Linked DNA regions of Homo sapiens: regions 2, 3, 4, 5, 6 and 7 are each linked to region 1. Evidence: promoter capture Hi-C in human tissues and cell types (Jung and others, 2019). All regions are on one chromosome and are shown on one strand. The core of a region is centred on a gene start or on the middle of the fragment in contact, and the rest is flanking DNA. Distances in the headings are between cores, read along the strand shown.

Evidence for each region. Contacts are between HindIII fragments. The study calls those that stand out against the background at their distance.
Region 2: a fragment that was not itself captured here is called in contact with the fragment with the promoter of KCNJ6 in region 1 in 4 of the 25 tissues and cell types used here (H1 embryonic stem cells, mesenchymal stem cells, mesendoderm cells and 1 more).
Region 3: a contact is called between a fragment that was not itself captured here and the fragment with the promoter of KCNJ6 in region 1, in 1 of the 25 tissues and cell types used here (mesenchymal stem cells).
Region 4: a fragment that was not itself captured here is called in contact with the fragment with the promoter of KCNJ6 in region 1 in 2 of the 25 tissues and cell types used here (IMR-90 fibroblasts and mesendoderm cells).
Region 5: a contact is called between a fragment that was not itself captured here and the fragment with the promoter of KCNJ6 in region 1, in 3 of the 25 tissues and cell types used here (H1 embryonic stem cells, dorsolateral prefrontal cortex and mesenchymal stem cells).
Region 6: a contact is called between a fragment that was not itself captured here and the fragment with the promoter of KCNJ6 in region 1, in 4 of the 25 tissues and cell types used here (dorsolateral prefrontal cortex, liver, mesenchymal stem cells and 1 more).
Region 7: a contact is called between a fragment that was not itself captured here and the fragment with the promoter of KCNJ6 in region 1, in 3 of the 25 tissues and cell types used here (bladder, dorsolateral prefrontal cortex and thymus).

What each region holds. Positions count from the first base shown.
Region 1 is chr21:37,915,010-37,917,725 of GRCh38, forward strand. KCNJ6 (potassium inwardly rectifying channel subfamily J member 6) reads right to left here and starts at 1,448. Exons shown (of 4, transcript NM_002240.5): 1 at 875-1,448. The HindIII fragment of the contact is 8,322 bases long and covers 1-2,716 here.
Region 2 is chr21:38,226,483-38,229,182 of GRCh38, forward strand. No RefSeq gene overlaps it. Among named protein-coding and RNA genes, the nearest start is that of DSCR10, 22 kb to the left of the region's middle. The HindIII fragment of the contact is 3,540 bases long and covers 1-2,700 here.
Region 3 is chr21:37,606,496-37,609,230 of GRCh38, forward strand. It overlaps KCNJ6 (potassium inwardly rectifying channel subfamily J member 6), which reads right to left. Exons shown (of 4, transcript NM_002240.5): 4 at 878-2,735. The region is part of intron 1 of KCNJ6-AS1 (KCNJ6 antisense RNA 1); the gene reads left to right. Among named protein-coding and RNA genes, the nearest start is that of KCNJ6-AS1, 89 kb to the left of the region's middle. The HindIII fragment of the contact is 4,451 bases long and covers 1-2,735 here.
Region 4 is chr21:38,198,275-38,201,182 of GRCh38, forward strand. No RefSeq gene overlaps it. Among named protein-coding and RNA genes, the nearest start is that of DSCR10, 6.4 kb to the right of the region's middle. The HindIII fragment of the contact is 7,007 bases long and covers 1-2,908 here.
Region 5 is chr21:38,347,652-38,350,410 of GRCh38, forward strand. No RefSeq gene overlaps it. Among named protein-coding and RNA genes, the nearest start is that of LINC01423, 3.0 kb to the left of the region's middle. The HindIII fragment of the contact is 3,820 bases long and covers 1-2,759 here.
Region 6 is chr21:38,401,300-38,403,999 of GRCh38, forward strand. It overlaps ERG (ETS transcription factor ERG), which reads right to left. Exons shown (of 10, transcript NM_182918.4): 4 at 2,207-2,410; 5 at 1,258-1,338. Among named protein-coding and RNA genes, the nearest start is that of LINC01423, 57 kb to the left of the region's middle. The HindIII fragment of the contact is 6,085 bases long and covers 1-2,700 here.
Region 7 is chr21:38,181,836-38,184,688 of GRCh38, forward strand. No RefSeq gene overlaps it. Among named protein-coding and RNA genes, the nearest start is that of DSCR10, 23 kb to the right of the region's middle. The HindIII fragment of the contact is 4,625 bases long and covers 1-2,853 here.

The DNA of each region.
Region 1 (2,716 bases), core at 198-2,697:
TGGCTGTTTCTATTAAGATATATTTTCCCCCTGACAATCTCTCCATATTGCACCTAGTACAACAGATGTACCTGTGGATCCACTGGGCTTTTATTGGGTTTTGGGAATACTGATGTTATTTCACTTAAAAACTAATCCAAGCTTAATGTTTTGATGAAAATGAAAATATATCCACAGGGAAGCAAATATCCACAGCCACCCAGTCCTCTAAATGCCACACACATCTCATTTTATCTAAAGTGTTTTTTCTTCCCTTCCAATTACAAAATAATTCAGTTTACTCCTAGGAAGATCTTCCTATTCACTGTTTTTAGTCATGCTAGCACATCTTCGGTTTTAAGGATAGAGAACAGTTAGGAGTTACAGTATTCTGTTTCCCATTCTCCGCATGTTTCTCCCCAACCCTCACTTTTCCTCCCTTTCGTGTTGTCTCCTCTCCTCTCCATGCAAAGCAGAACAAGAAGACTGCCTTCCACAAAGACAATAGGCTTTTCCCAACTGTAAATGACTACATCACAAGCCGCACCTGTCAGTTAATCAGTGCATTTAAGTCTTTGCCAGCGGATGTTGAAATGATGTCTGCAATAACTGACTGGGTTTCTGCGAGCCCAGGGATGCAGACCCCTCCTTCCCCCGCCCCCCGTGCGAGTTTCAGTCGCTAATGAAAACCGTATGAAACAGATTCCCCTTCTGTTATGTAACCGGCTTCTCCCTCGCCTTTCGGCTGACTTGGGCACAATGTTTCTCATGAGAGTGGAGATGCCTGCGGCGACGGCGGAGCTGGGGAAGGGGACGCGGGGACCCGAGAGCACGGAACGCCTCGCCCAGGTGGACGCCAGCTCCTCGCCTGCGAGCAGCTCAGCGCACCGCTTACCTGGCTGCGGACGGGGTGGCTTCACTCAATCATGATCTCCTCTCTTGAAACGGAGCAAGACTGAACAATTCACTACACGACGGATGGCGAGGGAAGGAAATGCAAAAAAGAAAAGGAAAAGAAAAAAACTGGAATCAGATGGTCAAATTTCACATCAGCACCGAGAGGCTGTTAGGAGACTCCATTCTGCTCGCGGCTGCTCCGGCTCCAGGTCCGGCTTCCCGGCGTCCGCGGGTCTCCACCCCTCCGCCCGCCCAGCCTCTCCAGCCAGGTGCGGCCGTCTCCGGACTGGCTCCCTCTGGCCGAGCGCGGAGAGCAGGGCTGGGCGCTGGGGCCAAGGGAGGGGCGGAGGGGCGCGCGTTTGGGCAGGGACGGGGGAGGGAGACTGGGTGGAATGAAGTGGGGAAAGATAAGAGTGGCAGAAGAAAAAAAAAATCCCCGGTTAGGAGAAAAGTGGTGGACCACGCAGAGAGACGTCATGAAATCCGCAGATTCAATGAATGCTACTCAATTCCAGCCGACTGGCTGAGCCCCGCTGGCAGCGCACGAAGCGACGCGGCTCCGAGATAAAAGCGAGTGCAGCGCCGCGTGCTGGGGAAAAAGCCGCACAGCGCCGGCGCGGTCCGGGAGGAAGGGGCGGGGGCGAGCAGGACAGAGCCACAGACCCAGAGACGCCCACCCCGCCGCCCATGCCAGCTAGCGTGTCAGCGCGTCGAGGACCGGGCTTGGTGGGGGCGGGCTGGGCACAAACCAACGTGCATCCCCCGCCACTGGAAACGTGGGTGCTCCATGCTGGGGGAATCTTTTGGGTTTCGGTCCCCGACCCCCCAGTCCCAACCTTTCTCCCAGTGCCACTAAGTAAGTTATTCCCGGAGAAACGCCTGGAAAGCAGGAAAGAGCCGAAGCTCGGGGAGCAGTTTTGTCTGCTGGTTGTAGGGGTTCGGCTTTTAGGGTTTTGTGAGATAAGGAAAAAGAGGCTCTGGGCACTGCCTCCCACCGGGCTGAAATCCGTGAGAGGCAGCCCCGGCGCGGGAGCCGGAGCCTGCACCGCCCAGAGGGGGCGCAGCGAGCGGCCGGGACGGAGGGGAGGGGCCCTATCCCTGAGCTTTGCTTGCACCTGGTGGCGCCCCAGCCTGCTGCCCCATTCAGTCCCTTCTGTCCTGTCCACTGCAACTGGGACCTGGTCCCGGCTGCTGCATCATCACCCCATCCTTATATGATGTCTCTGGGGTCACTGGAGACAAAGAATGGCCTTTTCCAAGAATGACCCAGGCTGCCTTCAAAGTTGAATTTGTCAGGATAAGCCCCTTAGACAAAGGTCTACTCCACTCTTTGAATCTAACTTGCTTTGTGCTGTTATTCCAGGGGCCCCTCATAGTGCTCCCCTCTTGCACCCCCTCTTTTTCTTATGGTCATCAAAAACAATGGTTCTACATTTCCAAAGTCTTCCCATAAATTGCTTCTACCTATGAACAGAACTCTCTTTTATGCTGTCTTTTTCCTAGGGATGAATGGATTGACAAATTGTAAGAGTAGCGAATACCATTGGCTAGTAATTTTATAATGGCCCTTTCAATAACTGGCTATTCTTGTGCTGCTTTATGAAGTGGCTTTCCTTCCACAAGGCACAGAATCTCTACCTCAAAGAAGGTGACCTTATTTTAGAGAGAAGGCTTACGGAAACCTCTTATTTCCAAGATTATTTTATTCTACATACATACATTTTAATTACCTAGCAATTCAGGTCCCCTCAAGAATGCTGTCTGCCCTCTAAAAATGACTGTAATATGGAGAGGTGTTTGTGTCAATTTGCATCCAAAGTCATGTAAAAGTCAACCGTAC
Region 2 (2,700 bases), core at 141-2,640, 310 kb after region 1:
GCTTTTTCTGTTTGGGTGGGGAAAGCTTTGACTCATCCTGACAAGGTGCAGAAGAGTACTAGCATGTACTAATAGCCCCCTGCTCAGGGCAGCTTTGTGAAGTCCATAAGCAGGTTTTCACAGGGTGTGGCTCCAATTTCCTAAATTCCCAGGGGCCGAGTAGGTTATTATGGGTCATTCTGAGCACATGTTAGACATTGCCTGCACACAGCTTGGGTGAGGGCATTGAGCCGTGGCACATAGAGGTGGCATCCCAGTAGCGTTTGTAGTGCCGTTTTCCCCATGTGAGTCTCTTGGTGGAATTGTTTTACAAACTTAGGGGCCACCATTTCAGGGATGGCTAGTCTCCCATCAGAGAATTTCCACCATCCTCCTTCAGTGCATTTTCCAGTTTCTTGGGCAAACCAGGCCTTCTCATTTGGAGAGTAACTTGGGATCTCGGGGAGGGAAGGTTCTGGGAGGAGAAGCATAGCTAAGGATTCCTTTTCAAAGTGTGGAGTAATCATTGCTGTCCGTTTTGCCTCCCTGTCTGCCTTTCTGTTTCCTTTGGCCTCTAGTGTTCTTGCTTTTTGGTGCCCTCTGCAGTGCATAACAGCTACCTTCTTTGGGGCCTATACAGTACCTAAGAGCTGTAAAATCTCCTCTTTGTATTTTATTTCTTTTTTTCCCAGCAGTTAAGAGTCCTCTCTCCTTGTATATAGCTTCATGAACATGCAATGTGGCAAAGACACACTTTTGTCTTTGTGATTTGGAATCAGTGTAAATATTGACCTTTTTGTCTCTCATCAGCAAAAGAGCCCTTGTTAGGGCCATTAGCTCTGCCTTCTGGGCTGATGCTCCGGTGGGCAGAGGCTGAGCCTCTATCACTGAGTCCAACGTTACCACCGCATAACCTGCCCAACGGACCCCTTCCAGTATGAAACTGCTCCCATCTGTGAACTACTTAACAACTGGGTCCCTGAGGGGTTGGTCTGTAAGGTCTCCCCTACTCAAGAATACTTCATCTACCATTTTCACACAGTCATGGAGTGGGGTTCCCAGTTCAATCAGGAGCAAGGTGGCTGGGTTAAGGGTGTTTACTGTTTCTAAAGCTATGTGGGGATTTTTGCATAGGAGTCCCTGGTACTGAGTCATTCCTGGATTTGATAACCAGTGATGCCCTCTCTGGTTCATTAGAGTTATAACTGAATGTGGTAACTGGATGGTCAGCTGCTGCCCTAGAGTCAGTTTGTTAGCTTCTTGTGCCAGTAGGGCAGTGACAGCTAGTGTCTTAAAGCAAGGAGGCTACCTTAGTGCCACTGAGTCTAGTTGCTTGGATAAGTATGCCACCAGGCGATGCCACAATCCTATGAATTGAGTCAGGACTCCTACAGCCATTCCTTTTTGTTCATGGACATATAGAAAGAAAGGCTCAGTTATGTCAGGCAGTCCTAAGACTGGGGCCTGTGTTAAGGCTTCTTTGATTTTTTTAAATGCTTTCTCCTGGTCAGCCTCCCAGAGGAGGGGTTCCTTTTCTCTCCCCTTGAATCTGGCCATGTTCAGTATAATAGAGGGGTCCCTGAGTTTCCCGGGGAGGCATCTGCAAAGCCCAGGCATGGCCAGACTGGAGGCAGCAGGCTTGATCATCCTGACTTTCCTCCTTGACCTGGGGCAGTGGTTTTGATTTTTCTTTTTGAGGCAAGGCCCAGGGTTCGTTACCATTTGAATTTGACTCCTCGGGGGCTGGCCTTAGTAAAGGCGGGTAGATTGGACTGTAGGGAGGATTCCTATCTCCTCTGGTGATTCCTGCAGAACTGGTTTTTCCTGTGGCTTTCCCTTTGTTTCTGTAGCTGACAGCGAAGCTGATTTTTCTTTCACTTTAAGCTTGGCTTGAGCCACGAGTGTTTTGCCATAAGCTGTCAGGCAGAGCTGCAACCACGCAGGTCAGTTTTGGACTATATGTAGCCATGAGTCAATATAAGGAAATTGGTCTGGATGCCCTGGCTGTCCTCCCAACCCAGTCACCACCTTAAATACATGGCCAATTGTTTCCCTATCTATAGTTCCTTCGACCAGCCATCTCACACCAAAAGAGGTCCATTCTATTTCACAGAGAGTTCTCAACCTCTGGGGGGTCAACTTGATCCCACAACACTCTGCATAACTTTTCTTGAAGTTCTTTAACATACATTGTAATGGGGTGGGTTTTGACAGCTTCCTTCCCATTTCCTCCCAGTTATGACACAACTTATTCACTCTTTTACTTTCTCTTCAGACTGATTAGACCATCTCCCTCATGGGAACTTTCAGATGCTGCTTAGCTTTAATGGAGGGTTCATATGAGTCCCAAACCTGGACCACCACAATCACTGAATTGTGGGGTGCCTCCCTAAGCCATATGTGGTAGCCCCGGAGGACGTTTGCCACTAGTCCTGGTTGGTCCCACACTTTGCTAGGGGCGTATGGTCTATGCTAAGAGACCTGTGGCCCCACACACTTCACTCCCCACATTGACTCCTTTTAGAACTGCCTCTTTCACATGCATTCACACACTTCCCTGCTCCCCATTCCTTTTCTCTGGGTGGGGTGTAGGTTTCATCCGACTTTGTGAGCCACTCCCACATCCTGGGTCAGACTACTCAGTGCACCCCTAGGAGTTGATCAGGCTCCCCTTCTGTCCTTATGGGATGGGTCCTGTCTTGGGCCCCAAACCTTACCACA
Region 3 (2,735 bases), core at 21-2,520, 310 kb before region 1:
AGGGTAATAATTCCACCAGGCACAACAGTAATATTGGCAGGGGCACATTAGGAAAATCAGGACGAAATACACACGATGTCCCAGGGTTTGTTTCACCAAACACTAGCTTCTGGGAAAGAATTTATCTTAGGCACATTTTTACATGACTTTTGTTCATGTTACAGTATGAGGCAACTCACGTGTCATTTTAAACCTTGGCTTCCTGCACGCCTCGGTAGAGAGGGACAGCTGGCTAAGCCACCAGCCCGAGATTCCCTGGTGGGGAGGAGTTAGAGCCGAGCCGAGGCACTGGAGTTTGGCAAAGCCAACCCATGCAAAATGGACCACTGAGAACACGAAAAACTCTCACGGAATGTTTCTTTAGTCCAACATGGAACTTTATCATGAATGATCAAACTCCTTTTATTAAGACTCTTAGAGCTGTGACAAGGGGCAGGATCAACTGCTCTGCAAGTCCCTAATTCCCTTTCGTTTTTTTCAAGTTCCATGAAGTGCAAGGTACAAACAGGTATCAAAGGAGTCCCACTTGGGTCAGTAGGTGTGGAAAGGAGCGGAGCTGACCCATTGCTGGGATCTGGCCATAGGCAGAACATTGTGGGAGAGATGGGGAAAGAGACAGGAGGGGGAGAGCGAGAAGGAGGAAAGGGAGCAAGAGAGTTAGGGAGAGAAAGAAAGAGATGGAGAGAGAGGAAGAGTGGGAGGGAAGAAGAGAGAAGATCACTCCAAACCCATGGTACTATCCTTGGGTTATGCCTGATATGCCTGACATCTTGAGTGGCCCTGGGGCAGGGTGTTGCGCTTTGAAACAATTCATGCTCTCACTTGTAGAAAAGGCCGACTTCTTTGGACACAGACACACATAAAAAAGAAACCAAGGCCATATCAAATTTTTCTTTTATTGTTCCAGTCAAAAAAAGAGGAACACCTCAATATGTAAACAGTTTCCCTAACACAGCGAGTTCTTAAAGATATATATATATATATATATTTTTTTTTTATTTTAAAAAAATTTGGCATTGTAGTGATTTCTCAATACATAATTTGTGCTTTCGCATTGAGCATGCTTTCGTCTCATTGTCCGTGCACAGACATACTTGGAGTTGAGTAAAGGGAGTTACAAAAGGACCAAAAAATGGGACAGGAGCCAAACCAGTACTTGAGCCCTACCTGGTGTTCCTTCCTAAAAAGCATGGTGGAAAAGTTGGCAAGATTGACCTCAGAAGCAAATCTTAGTGACTTTATTCCAAAGAAATCTTAGAAGCCTTGGTAGCAACTTTTGAAAGAAGCATTTCTTGTTTTCTTTCTGTTCATCCCTAAAGGATCATTGGTTTTGCTTGGAGAAAACTTTAGTTATTTTGTATGTTATATTTCTTAATATCCCTAAGTCCCTTCTAAAATAAACTCTTGTTTTGTGATTTTGCTGGACACATGATGGTTTACAACTACATGCTATTGAAATTCCACTAGTGATTTATTCTGCTTTTTGCTGAATCATTTCAAAGTGCTTGACAGTTGTGTAAAGACCTTTTGGTTTTGTCCAGTGAAAATTATTTTTTAATTCAATACTAAAGACTTCAGAGCCTTTAAGATGCAATGATGGGTTTATCAATAATACTGTTCATGCTATTCGTTTCTTAGTCCTTGTCCTTAGCCTGAAATTCTAAGTCTCTATAAATTAGCACCAGTTTTCCAAATGCATATTTTATCAAATCCTATGATCCTAGGCTGGTCTAGGTACCATCCCCCAATCTTACCTTGTGTGTTTCTGTTTTAAGACCCTCTCCCATGCTGGCCTTGCAAACTGAAATGCCTTTGCTTTTGGATCTCTCTCTCTCTTTTTAAAATAGAGATGGGGTCTTGCTGTGTTGCACAGGCTAATCTTGAATTCCTGGGCTCAAGCAATCCTCCCACCTTGGCCTCTCAAAGTGCTGGAATTACAGGCATGAACCATTGTGCTTGCCTGCCCTTGGATCTCTGTCTCCAAAACCTAAGCAGTCTTTGAGAAATGTCAGGGCAAATGTCCCTTTCTTCCTCATGAGGCCATTTCTTACTGCTTACGCAGAAACTGATCTACTTTCTTTACATTCCAGCAAATTTGTTGTGCCTGTCCCTCTTCGTTTAGGTATTTCTAAAACTAGACTCAGTTACTTCACGTGTGAAGTGGGAAGCAGTATTTTCTCACAGGGTTTTGTGTGGTTCGATGCACTTAGCGCAGTGTTGTTGCATGGTAAGGGCTGGCAGCCATGGGATTACAGGCTTGTTGAGGACAGTGGGGGATGTTACTTTTTCTCAGAGTCTTCATAGTAACTTGTCAAGGACATCACTCACTGTACTGCAAGTGTTCACTGAGTGCTCATGGCCAGCACTCAGGCAAGTGAATACACATTTGGAGTAATAAAATATGGGGCATCAGCTAACTTTCAGAATATTTTGAGTGGAGTTTTGTCCTTGTCTAGTTTTAGTTGCCTGTTGGGATCCCTGAGTATAAAAATACAAGTGTGTGCCTGCTCCCAGCATTGACGAGCTTCATGAACCTTGAAAATGGAACACTTTATTTCTCTGTAGGATGTGAGCATTTGATAAAGAACTCAAGTTCCTGAAAAAATTTCTGGAGACAAAGTTGAGGATCAAGTATCATCTGTGCTTCATTTCTTTTGGGAAGATGTGCGTTCTCTAGGTGTGGATATTGGAGTTGGCACACTGACATGCACCCTAATGACCCTCAGCTTGGGGAC
Region 4 (2,908 bases), core at 34-2,533, 280 kb after region 1:
GGCTCTTTTTTGGTTCCATATTAATTTTAGGGTTTTTTTTTGTAATTCTTTGAAGAATGATGGTGGTATTTTGATGGGAATTGTGTTAAATTTGTAGATTGCTTTTGGCAGTATGGTCATTTTTCCAATATTGATTCTACTCATCCATGAGCATTAGATGTGTTTCCATTTGTTTATGTCATCTATGATTTTTTTCAGCAGTATTTTGTAGTTTCCCTTGTAGAAGTCTTTTACCTCCTTGGGTAGGTATATTCCTAAGTATTTTACTTTTTTGCAGCTATTGTAAAAGGGGTTGAGTTCTTGATTTTATTCTCACCTTGGTTACTGTTGGTGTATAGAAGACCTACTGATTTCTGTACATTAATTTTGTATCTGGAAACTTTGCTGAATGCTTTTGTCAGTTCTAGGAGCATTCTGGAGGAGTCTTTAGAGTTTTCTAGGTAAACAATCATATCATAAGCAAACAGCAACAGTTTGACTTCCTCCTTCCTCTTTACCCATTTGGATGCCCTTTATTTCTTTCTCTTGTCTAATTGCTCTGTCTAGAACTTCCAGTACTATGTTGAAGAGGAGTGAGAGTGAGCATCCTTGTCTTGTTCCAGTTCTCAGAGGGAATGCTTTCAACTTTTTCCCTTTCAGTATTATGTTAATTGTGGGTTTGTCAGAGATGGCTTTTATTACATTGAGGTATGTCCCTTGTATGCCAATTTTTCTGAGAGTTTTAATCATAAAAAGATGTTGGATTTTGTCTAATGCTTTTTCTGCATGTATTAAGATAATCATGTGATTTTTGTTTTTGATTCTGTTTATGTGATGTTCACATTTATTGACTTGCATATGTTAAACCATCCCTACATGCCTGGTATACAACCCACTTGATCATGGTGGATTTTTTTTTTTTTTTTGATATGTTGTTGGATTCGGTTCACTAGTATTTTGCTAAGGATTTTAGCATCTATGTTCATCAGGAATATTGGTCTGTAGTTTTCTTTTTTGGTTATGTCCTTTCCTGGTTTTGGTAATAGGGTGATATCAGCTTCATAGAATAATTTAGGGAGGGTTTCCTCTTTCTCTATATTGTGGAATAGTGTCAATAAGATTGGTACCAATTCTTTGAATGTCTGGTAGAATTCTGCTATGAATCCATCAGTCCTGGACTTTTTGTTTTTGGTAATTTTTAAATTACCATTTCAATTTCACTGCTTGTTATTGGTCTCTTCAAGGTATCTAATTATTCCTGATTTAAGCTAGGAAGGTTGTATCTTTCCAGGAATTTATCCATCTCCTCTAAGTTTTCTAGTTTATGTGTATAAAGGTGTTCATAGTAGCCTTGAATGATCTTTTGTATTTCTGTGGTGTCAGCTGTAATATCTCCCATTTCATTTCTAATTGGGTTTATTTGGATTTTCTCTCTTCTTTTCTTGGTTGATCTTGCTAATGGTCTATCAATTTTATTTTATCTTTTCAAAAAACCAGCTTTTTGTTTCATTTATCTTTTCTATTTTGTGTTTGTTTGTTTGTTTCAATTCTATTTAGTTCTGCTCTGGTCTTGGTTATTTCCTTTCCTCTGCTGGGTTTGGGTTTGGTTTGTTCTTATTTCCCTAGTTCCTTGAGATGTGACCAGATTGTTTGTTTGTGCTCTTTCAGACTTTTTGATGCAGGCATTTGGGGCTATGAACTTTCCTCTTAGCACTGCCTTTGCTGTATCCCAGAGGCTTTAGTAGGTTGTGTCACTATTGTCATTCAGTTAGAAGACTTTTTAAATTTCCACCTTGATTTCATTTTTGACCCAATGGTCACTCAGGAGCAGATTATTTAATTTCCATGTATTTGCATGGTTTTGAAGGTTCCTTTTGGAGTTGATTTCCAGTTTTATTCCACTGTGGTCTGAGAGAGTGATTGATATAATTTCAATTATCTTATATTTATTAAGGCCCATTTTGTGGCCTATCATATGGTCCATCTTGGAGAAGATTCCATGCGCTGTTAAATATAATATATATCCTGCAGTTGTTGGGTAGAATATTCTGTAAATAATCATTGTTTATTTGCTGACCTTCTGTCTTGGTGACCTGTCTAGTGCTGTCAGTGGAATATTGAAGTCCCCTACTATTATTGTGTTGCTGTCTATATCATTTCTTAGGTCTATTAGTAATTGTTTTATAAATTTGGGAGCTCCAGTGTTAGGTGCATATATATTTAGAACTGTGATATTTTTCTGTTGGACAAGGTCTTTTACCATTATATAATATCCCTCTTTGTCTTTTTTAACTGCTGTTGCTTTAAAGTTTGTTTTGTCTGACATAAGAATAGCTACTCCTGCTTGCCTTTGGTGCCCATTTGCATGGAATGTCTTTTTCCACCCCTTTAACTTAAGTTTATGTGAGTCCTATGTGTTAGGTGTATCTCTTGAAGGCAGCAGATGGTTGGTGAATTCTTATCCATTCTGCAATTCTGTATCTTATAAGTGGAGCATTTAGGCCATTTACATTTAACGTTAGTATTGAGATGTGTGGTACCATTCCATTCATCAGGTTGTTTGTGCATGCATAACTTGGTTTTCTGTGTATGTGTTTTTTTTAATTGTATTTTTGTTTCATAGGTCCTTTGAGATTTACGCTTTAAGAAAGTTCTGTTTTGATGTGTTTCCAAGATTTGTTTCAAGATTTAGAGCTCCTTTGAACAGTTCTTGTAGTGCTAGCTTGATAGTGGCAAATTCTCTCAGCATTTGTTTGTCTGAAAAAGACTGTATCTTTCCTTCATTTATGAAGCTTAGTTTCACTAGATACAAAATTCCTGGCTGATAATTGTTTTGTTTGAGGAGGCTGAAGATAGGGCCCCAATCCCTTCTAGCTTGTAGGGTTTCTGCTGAGAAATCTGCTGTTAATGTGATCGTTAATACAGAGTG
Region 5 (2,759 bases), core at 205-2,704, 430 kb after region 1:
TGTCCTCACCCCTCCTCAGCCCAGCACATCCTCATGCGAAATCATCACGGGAAGCAGGACAGTCCCTGCTATGCAAGGAGAGGGCAGTTGAGCATGAGGGCTGGTTAAGAGAAGAGATTTCTGAGCCCGACTCCAAGCCCTACGATTTATGAGTTGTGAGATTATGTCTTTGCCCAATTTATTAATCTGTCTAAACCTCAGTTTTTCTATCTGTAAAATATGGTTCTTGAGAGGCTGCAATGAGATGATATACCTAAGAGAAAGCCCAGAGCCTGGCAGGCAATAGCCAAGCGATGGTAGCAGTTATTATCCCTAGTGGAAATCGCAGCACATGAACACTCTTGGATTGTTGTTTGTTTCACAGCTCGAGTCTCTGGAACTGGAGGAATCCCTTCCAGTTACCTCCTGTTCTTGCTTTTCGGATGCCGGGGGCCTCTCTTGCCAGAACAGCGGTCATGAGCCATGAGGGCAGTTTCTACACATCTTCCTAGACAGGATGGCTTGGCTTATGATCTGGAAGATGTTTTGCCACTGTTCAGCCACAAGAATGGTTGTCATTTGCTCCGTTGCTTGTAAAGGAAGGCTCGTCTATGGCATTTGGTTAGTGAGAGCAGCAGTTTAGAGAATAAGGAAAGAAGTTTGTTTGAAGAGAGTCTCAGAAAGTGAAAGGTAACTGTTTTACACAGATGATGGATGAAGCGACTCCTTTTGCAATAAGCCCTTATCTTTCCTTAAAGCTTGTTCCAAGGGGGAAAGCCTATCACCTGGCCTACTGTGATTCTTGGAGTCTCCTCTGGCAAAAGAGGTGGCAGTTGTGGCTTGCCTCCATTTCGTTTTCTCTGCTGAGACCTCCAGAAAGTCAACCTGCCTCAGAAGGTGCAGGTCCCATGGGTTGTGGCCCCTCACGGGATGGTTACAAGGCAGGCAACTGAGTCACACATTTCGTTGCTTCCCAGGACACTGGAGACTTCTCACCTTGAGGGTGGGAGAGGTCTGACGGTTTGAAGGAAAGAGGGATTCCTACATACTGCAGGTCTTGGTAGGGAAAATGTCTTTGTTTATGAAGCCTTGGCGAGCACAATCATGAGTGATTTGGGGAAGGATTTCCTGGGGAATGGAGACTCTGTGAAACAGACAGGTCTCGCCTCATTTCTCTCTAGTCCCTGGCAGCAGCTGCTCACAGGAAAGAGTGCAGGGTCTTTGCTAAGATTCACTGAGGTTCCAGCACTGCATAGAAACAAGTAGCTAAGTGTCCCAGTAATTGTCACCATCTGTACCTAAGAGAAAGGAAAACCTCACGTGTGACCATCTTTTTTTTTAAGCAATCATTTCTTGAGAGAATAAAGCAGAAAAACCTGAACTTATCCTTTTGCTTGTACTAGGAGAAAGAGAAAACGCAACAAAACACACACACCTGACCCCTAGCTAACCTTTCTCAGGATGGGGATGGGAGGGTCCTGTCTGGAATCTCAGAAGTTGGGGCTTCCTAAGGCACCCCTACACCCCCGTTTCCTGGAATCTGCTAAAAGAAAATGGAAAACTAGCCGAGATATTTGACTGAGGTTTCTTAAGAAAACATATTCTCGGTTTGGGTTGTTTTCTGAGGGGAGGGTTGGAGCGATGTGGTTTAAGTAAGAAAATTGCTCATGAACAGTGATGGAAATAGTGACTCTCTTGACTGTTCCACATGTCTCTGGCTATAGTTACAGGAAGCAAAGTGGAACAGTGTTTGCGAATTACCTGGGGAACACGGGCAGAGTGGACAACTGATCTAAAAGGCTGGAGCCAAGAAAACATCACTGCATCAGTGATCTGGGTAATTCCATGGCTGGAGCATGTGTTTAGTTACTTAAGTGGAAGGTGGGGACGATCTTATTTCGGGAGCCTGGCTAGACTCCAAGATGAAATAAGATAACCTACTTCATCTAATTTGTTGCCCACACTCCCTAGAGACTAACGCATCTCAGGTCTCTCTGACGTCTATCCTAGTGAATCTCAAAAGATTTATTTTCATACTCTTTTAATAAGGTCAGTCAACCAAAATCTAAACTACTTGACTTGACTTTGAAAATGGTTTTAGAATCACAGTTCATAGTATAAGAGCACAAACAGTTTCCATTATCTTTGAATAAATCCAATAAATAATATTCACAAATTCTAAGACACAGACAATTTTAGTTGTTTGACCAACAGAATCAGTTTTTCTCCGGTGTATCTTTGTGGTTAGCCTTTATGATGTCACGTTTCTGCTACCAACTATCTATTCAGGGAAAGATAAACAGAGGGCAAACAATATTTGTTTATACCTTTTGGGCTAAAGACACAAAAATTCTGCTTAATTGCCTTCATCAATCAGTAGAAGATCCTAAATTCCTGGGGATCATGGAGCTCAAATGGTTAGGGTGGGCCATGTGTACACAGTCATTCATTCAATAATTCATTCACTCTCTCAGCCAGTCAATAAGTGTTGCACATCTGCAAAGTGCCCGGCACTGGGCTAGGCTCTGGGCATTTCAAGATGAATAAGACCCCACTTCTGAATGACGCAAAGAGCTTTCCAGCTACACAGTGGCATTTGTAATGTCACAGGCAGTCCAAGGAGGGAGTGGTTACTTCACAGAAGTCACTAGAGAAAAAGAGTATTTATGCAGGGCCTACAAGGATGGGAAAGATTTTGGCAGGGAGAAGCAGAGGGCTAAGGAGCTCTAGAAAGATGAGTTTCCAAGTATAAGCAAACTGAGGAAGCTGGAAATGAGGAA
Region 6 (2,700 bases), core at 156-2,655, 490 kb after region 1:
TAAATGTGAAATTATCAGAAAATGTGCATAGCTCAAAGGTGTTTCCTAAGAAGGGGAAGTAACTTCCTCTAAGTTATCTGTTATTTCTGGCCACAAGGTCACTAATAGGCTGATGTGTGCAACCAAAATTATTGAAAAAGTGTACTACCAACTCGAAGCAGGTTTTTTAAAACTTCAGATTAAAAAGACAATGTGTTGAATATAGAAGACCATGATAAATGAGCAATTTCATTGTAATACTCAAACCGGGACTCACTCACATTTTATATTTTAAAATAAAATGGTAAATATTGGGAAAATTGCGTATTTCTATGTGAGGGCTGATCGTGAGTTAACTGGCTGACTTGCAAGGCTTTCTGGCACTTCCCGTCTCCCTCCCTAGCCCGAGTGATTGTGGAGGGTCCCTGCAGCTAACAGAGTGGGGTGAGCAGCCGGTGGCCATGCTTCCGGAACTCTCTCCATCAGGAAGGAGCAGATGGATGTGAACCAGGAACACATTCATCCACAGAAAACCCAGCCTCTGCTGTGAGCGGGGGGCGAGGGAGGAAGGTTAGCCAGGATGAGGCACGGTGTTAAACCCTACTTAGGCTCAGGCAAAATAAATACATAACTAAGTCAAATGTAGAGGCAACGGTTAGAGATAGAAAACAGGCATTTGGTTAGTGACTAATTTCATATTCTCCAAAATTATAGCAGAGGTTCCCTCTGAACAAAAGCTCTCAAAATGTTACAGAAATTCCCTCCTGCCTTTTGCAAACATACAAAGTCTGTAGGAAAACAAATCAAATAGCCTAAAAGTTTATTGGAAAGGAAAAAGAAAATTCCAACTTATCCTAGCAAATATTTCTTTAAGAATAAAAATGGAAAAAATTAAAGGAGGTTGCTAAGGGCCCTTTTATATCGAACATGCTTTTAGTGTCTACAGAGTCAGCACAGCGAATATATTGGGACCAACAGAAGAAGACTGTAATCCGGCAAATGTGAGCTAAGTTATGGCTAAAGGCAAATTCTGCACGTCTCCTGGTTAAAAAGGAACCCTTTGATAATCAAAGTGGGGTGCTTGGGAAGCGCTCAGAAAACCAAAGGGCTTCACCTTCCTTTAGGCTGTGGTACATTCCTAAGTATCCGAAAGTATTCTGAATCATCTACCTGCGTTCTGTCTTCCTGGCACGCGCTGACTGGTTTCCCATGAAAGCATGCAACCTGTACGTAAGACCCTACGCTCTTGCTGGGAGGCAGGGGCGGGGCCAGCATTACCTGTGTTTCTAGCATGCATTAACCGTGGAGAGTTTTGTAAGGCTTTATCAACATCATCTGAAGTCAAATGTGGAAGAGGAGCTACAAAACAAAACAAAAAGCGACATCAAAATGAAAAAAAAAAGAGAGAGAGAGAAAGAGAATTACCTTTCTTACAAAAAAAAAAAAAAAAAAAGAAAGAAAAAGAAAGAAAGAAAACCGTTCCCCCACTCCCACACTAACATCATGGGAAGCTTATAACTATTTCCAGCAACCTGCTACTTGTTAGCATGTTAAAACCTACATGGGGGCCCGTCTTTAATTCAGGGAAGAAGTGGTTGGGATGCCAGGCAAAGCAATGGAGGAGAATTTATCCACCTCACTGTCTGTCACACTACTTCCTTCTCACCATGCTGGACGTTGTAGAAATTAAAGCATGCAGCAAACATTCTGGATTCATGCCAACATGCCATCCCTTTCTGTCAGGTTAAGCCGAATCACATGATACAAAGTGAAAACTTCCCTTGTTCTGTGCTCAGGTTAGAATATAAAGTGGGGCTTCATGTAGCTTTAGGGAGAATAATCCCCCTAATTCCTACGAAAGAGAAGCCTTAATGATTCTATTTCGATTCGGGGTATCATGGAGACTTAACTAATGTGTGACCAGTTAACGCTTCCTTTCCCCTTTGACATTCCATCTTCTTGGTCGCAGGACCCTGGAGGAGGCAGCTGAGTGTTGAAGTGAATTTTGGCTTCTCCTGAGAGCGCTGACTACTTCTCATCAGGTGATGTGGCCAGGGTGTTGCTCCCCTAAGTCATCACATACCAAGCATGTGGCTCCCTCGGATCCCCAGTGGGAACTGGGCGAGGGCAGGAGGATGCTGTCGACACACCTGGTTGAACCCTCTGAAGCTCAGGTCATAAGAACCATAGCCACAGCCATCTATCCTTGGAGGAAGGGGGAGCTTACTCTCTCTGAGGTAGTGGAGATGTGAGAGAAGGATGTCGGCGTTGTAGCTGGGGGTGAGCCTCTGGAAGTCGTCCTTGGTCATCTTGCACAGTTCCTTCCCATCGATGTTCTGGAATAACAAGATGTTGACGTCTGGAAGGCCATATTCTTTCACCGCCCACTCCAGCCACTGCCGCACATGGTCTGTACTCCATAGCGTAGGATCTGAAAGGGGTGGGAACACATTCAGTCAATTCCTGAAGCCAGGGATCTTCATCTTGGGGTAGATCCCCATCCACGTGGGATTTCTGACCAGCTGCCTTCCACAAGCACAGCCTCCAGCCAGCCTCCCTGGCTACCCAGGAGAACATTTTGGGGGAAAGACAAAAGCTGCCTCACATCCATAGATCATTGTCTTTAAAGTGAATAGTTCTGGAATCTTGGGATTATTCACATCACATGCCCTTGTTTTTGCTCAATCTAAAGTTTCCTGTAGGCATAAGATTTTAAAAATT
Region 7 (2,853 bases), core at 50-2,549, 270 kb after region 1:
TGCATGTGGAAAATGTCAAGGGTCCTAGAAGGAGGCAGCAGATGGAGGACAGAGGGAATTGAGAGGAGATATCAACTGCAGTCCCCCACAGACAGGCAGCCAACTTCACCACCCTCTAAGGCAGAACTCAACACTCTGACCAAGTCTCTAAAACAAAACATTTACAAAGCCCATAGTAAAATAAAATATTGGTAGACATGTGAAGAAATAGAAAAATGGGACTCAAAAAAAGAAAAGCAGTCATTAGCAACCACTTCTAAAGAGACCAAAAGTTTGGAGTTATGAGAGAAGGAGTGCACAGCACCTATGAAGAGTATATGCAAAGATATAAAGGAACACGGGGTCATGGTGAGGGTCAACTGGGAATCCTGGCAGGAGAAAATAAATATATATACATAAAGAAATAATTATAGAACTAAAAATCAAAATGTCTGAGATGAAAAATTCAATTATTTTCCTTAAGAGCAGATTGGAGAAAGCAGAATAATAGACAGAGACAAATAGAAAGCAAGTAAGAACTTGATAGACATGAACCTAATGATATAATTCATTACATAAATGTAGATGGAGTAAACATTTAAACTAAAAGGTATAAATGATCAGACTGTACAAAAATATAAGACTAAACTATATGCTGTTTTTCTTAGTGATGGTTCTCTAGAAAAACAGAGCCAATAGGATGTGTGGGTGTGGATGTTGAGGAGAGAGAGAGAGAGAGAGAGAAAAAGAGAGAGAGAAAAAAAAGAGAGAGAGAGAGACTTATTTAAAGAAATTGGCTCATGTTACCTTGGAACCTGGCAAGTCTAAAATCCGCATAGTAGGCCAGCAGGCTGGAGACCCAGGAAGAATTAATGTTGCAGCTCTGGTTCAAAAGCAGATGGCAGGTAGAATTCCTTCTTCCTTGGGTGGGGAACTTCCATCTTTTTCTCTTAAGGCCTTCAACTGATAAGAGGATGCCCACCCACATTATAGAAGATAAACTGCTTTACTTAACGTCCCCTGATTTCAATGTTAATCTCACCCAAAAACTGTCTTCACAGCAACATCCAGTCTAGTGTTTGACCAAATATCTGGGTGCCATGACCTTGCAAAGTTTATGTTAAAGCATAAAATTACAGAACCTTTTTATCCCCTTATAGTCTTGGCTCATCTTTATGTTTTTGAATCTCATAACTGCTTCTGTTTGATCACAGCTTGATTCACTGATCTTATTGCATGGAGGCATTGCCTTCTTTTATTCTATTGAGAATGGAAAATTGTTTCCAAAATAATTTATTTCTGGCTTTTCTATAAATCATTTTGAAAAGTCTCTGTGCTTCTCTGAGTCTTCAGGGATACTGATTCTTTCAACTTTTTGAATCTTTTGTTCAAATCAGGACTGTATTGATCTTTTTCTTTTAGATTCATTCTTCACAAAAGAAACATTTATCTAGACTTGACAAAAGCCTAGAGAAAAATGTGTTAATTGCCCTTTCATAGTTGATTAGATTACTGGTTATATTGGTCAAGGCTCATAGTGGAAGAAAGTAGAATGCACTCTATTTGATCTGAAAAGAAAGTGATGTATCAGATGGAATGATGAACCTTACAGAATCTCAGTGAGGCCCAGGGCATAAGGTTTAATTATCACATAATCAAAAATACAGCAATCAAAGGAAATGCCCAACCACCTATGGAACTGTTTCTGTTGCTGCTGCCTACTGCTCAGTACCTAAGTTTCTAGGAATCAGACTTCAGAAACTGCCAGACCTGCAACGGGAGAATGAACGTTTCTGTCACGAACCATGGCCACTGGCTCCCATTGTTCACACCCTCCTGGTCTCATGTGGACATCTGCTTGGCAGAATCTAAGCCACATGCAAAATCTTCTCTGCTAAGTACGGTTTTTAGTCTCCTGGCATCTGTTATACTAGAAGGTTCAGTAGAAGGAAGTGGGAATGGCAGCGGAGTGAGCCAGTGAAAAATCTGCTGCACTAAACAATCTCAGTGCTGGATGGAATACCCACATCTCAAATCCAAGGTCTAGAAGACCTTTATCCATGGTGGCTTCACTGTAAATGAGTGGACCTCTCATCATGTCACTGATTTTCTGGGACTCTATACTAAAGAAAGATTTTTTAAAAATTGCAATTCCTTCTTATATCAACTCCAGGGCTCCTCCTTCCTGCATCTTCCTCCACAAAGCTTTATTTTCTTAAATGAAATGTGTCACCAGCAATTCTCTCCCCAAACCTTCCACACCACAACTCACCATACTCACTAGATTTTTGAGAATCTTAGTCTTGAGTGAAAATACAAGTGTGTGGGGAAAAAAAGGAGAAGTAGATTCTGACCACCAACACAGTAGAAGACGAGCCACATGGTTTCCAGGCTGGCACAGATCCTGGGTACATGAGCTGGGAACAGACTTGATGCAGGGATAATTTTGGGTAAATTAATTGACCTGTTTAAGGATATTTGGAATAAGTTACCTATAAGCAGAATTCTAGAGGTAATGTCCTATGATTTTATAAAATCTGGAAGTCACTCATTTACATATTGGAAATTCTTTTTCTTGACAAAAATGATTCATGACTTCAACAAATGGTGCTAGAACAACTGGATGTCTATGTTCAAAAGAATGGTGGAGTACCCCTTCTTCACTCCACACATCAAAACCATCTCATTGTTCAATTCCCACCTATGAGTGAGAACATGCAGTGTTTGGTTTTTTGTCCTTGTGATAGTTTGCTGAGAATGATGGTTTCCAGCTTCATCCATGTCCCTACAAAGGACATGAACTCATCATTTTTTATGGCTGCATAGTATTCCGTGGTGTATATGTGCCACATTTTCTTAATCCAGTCTACACCT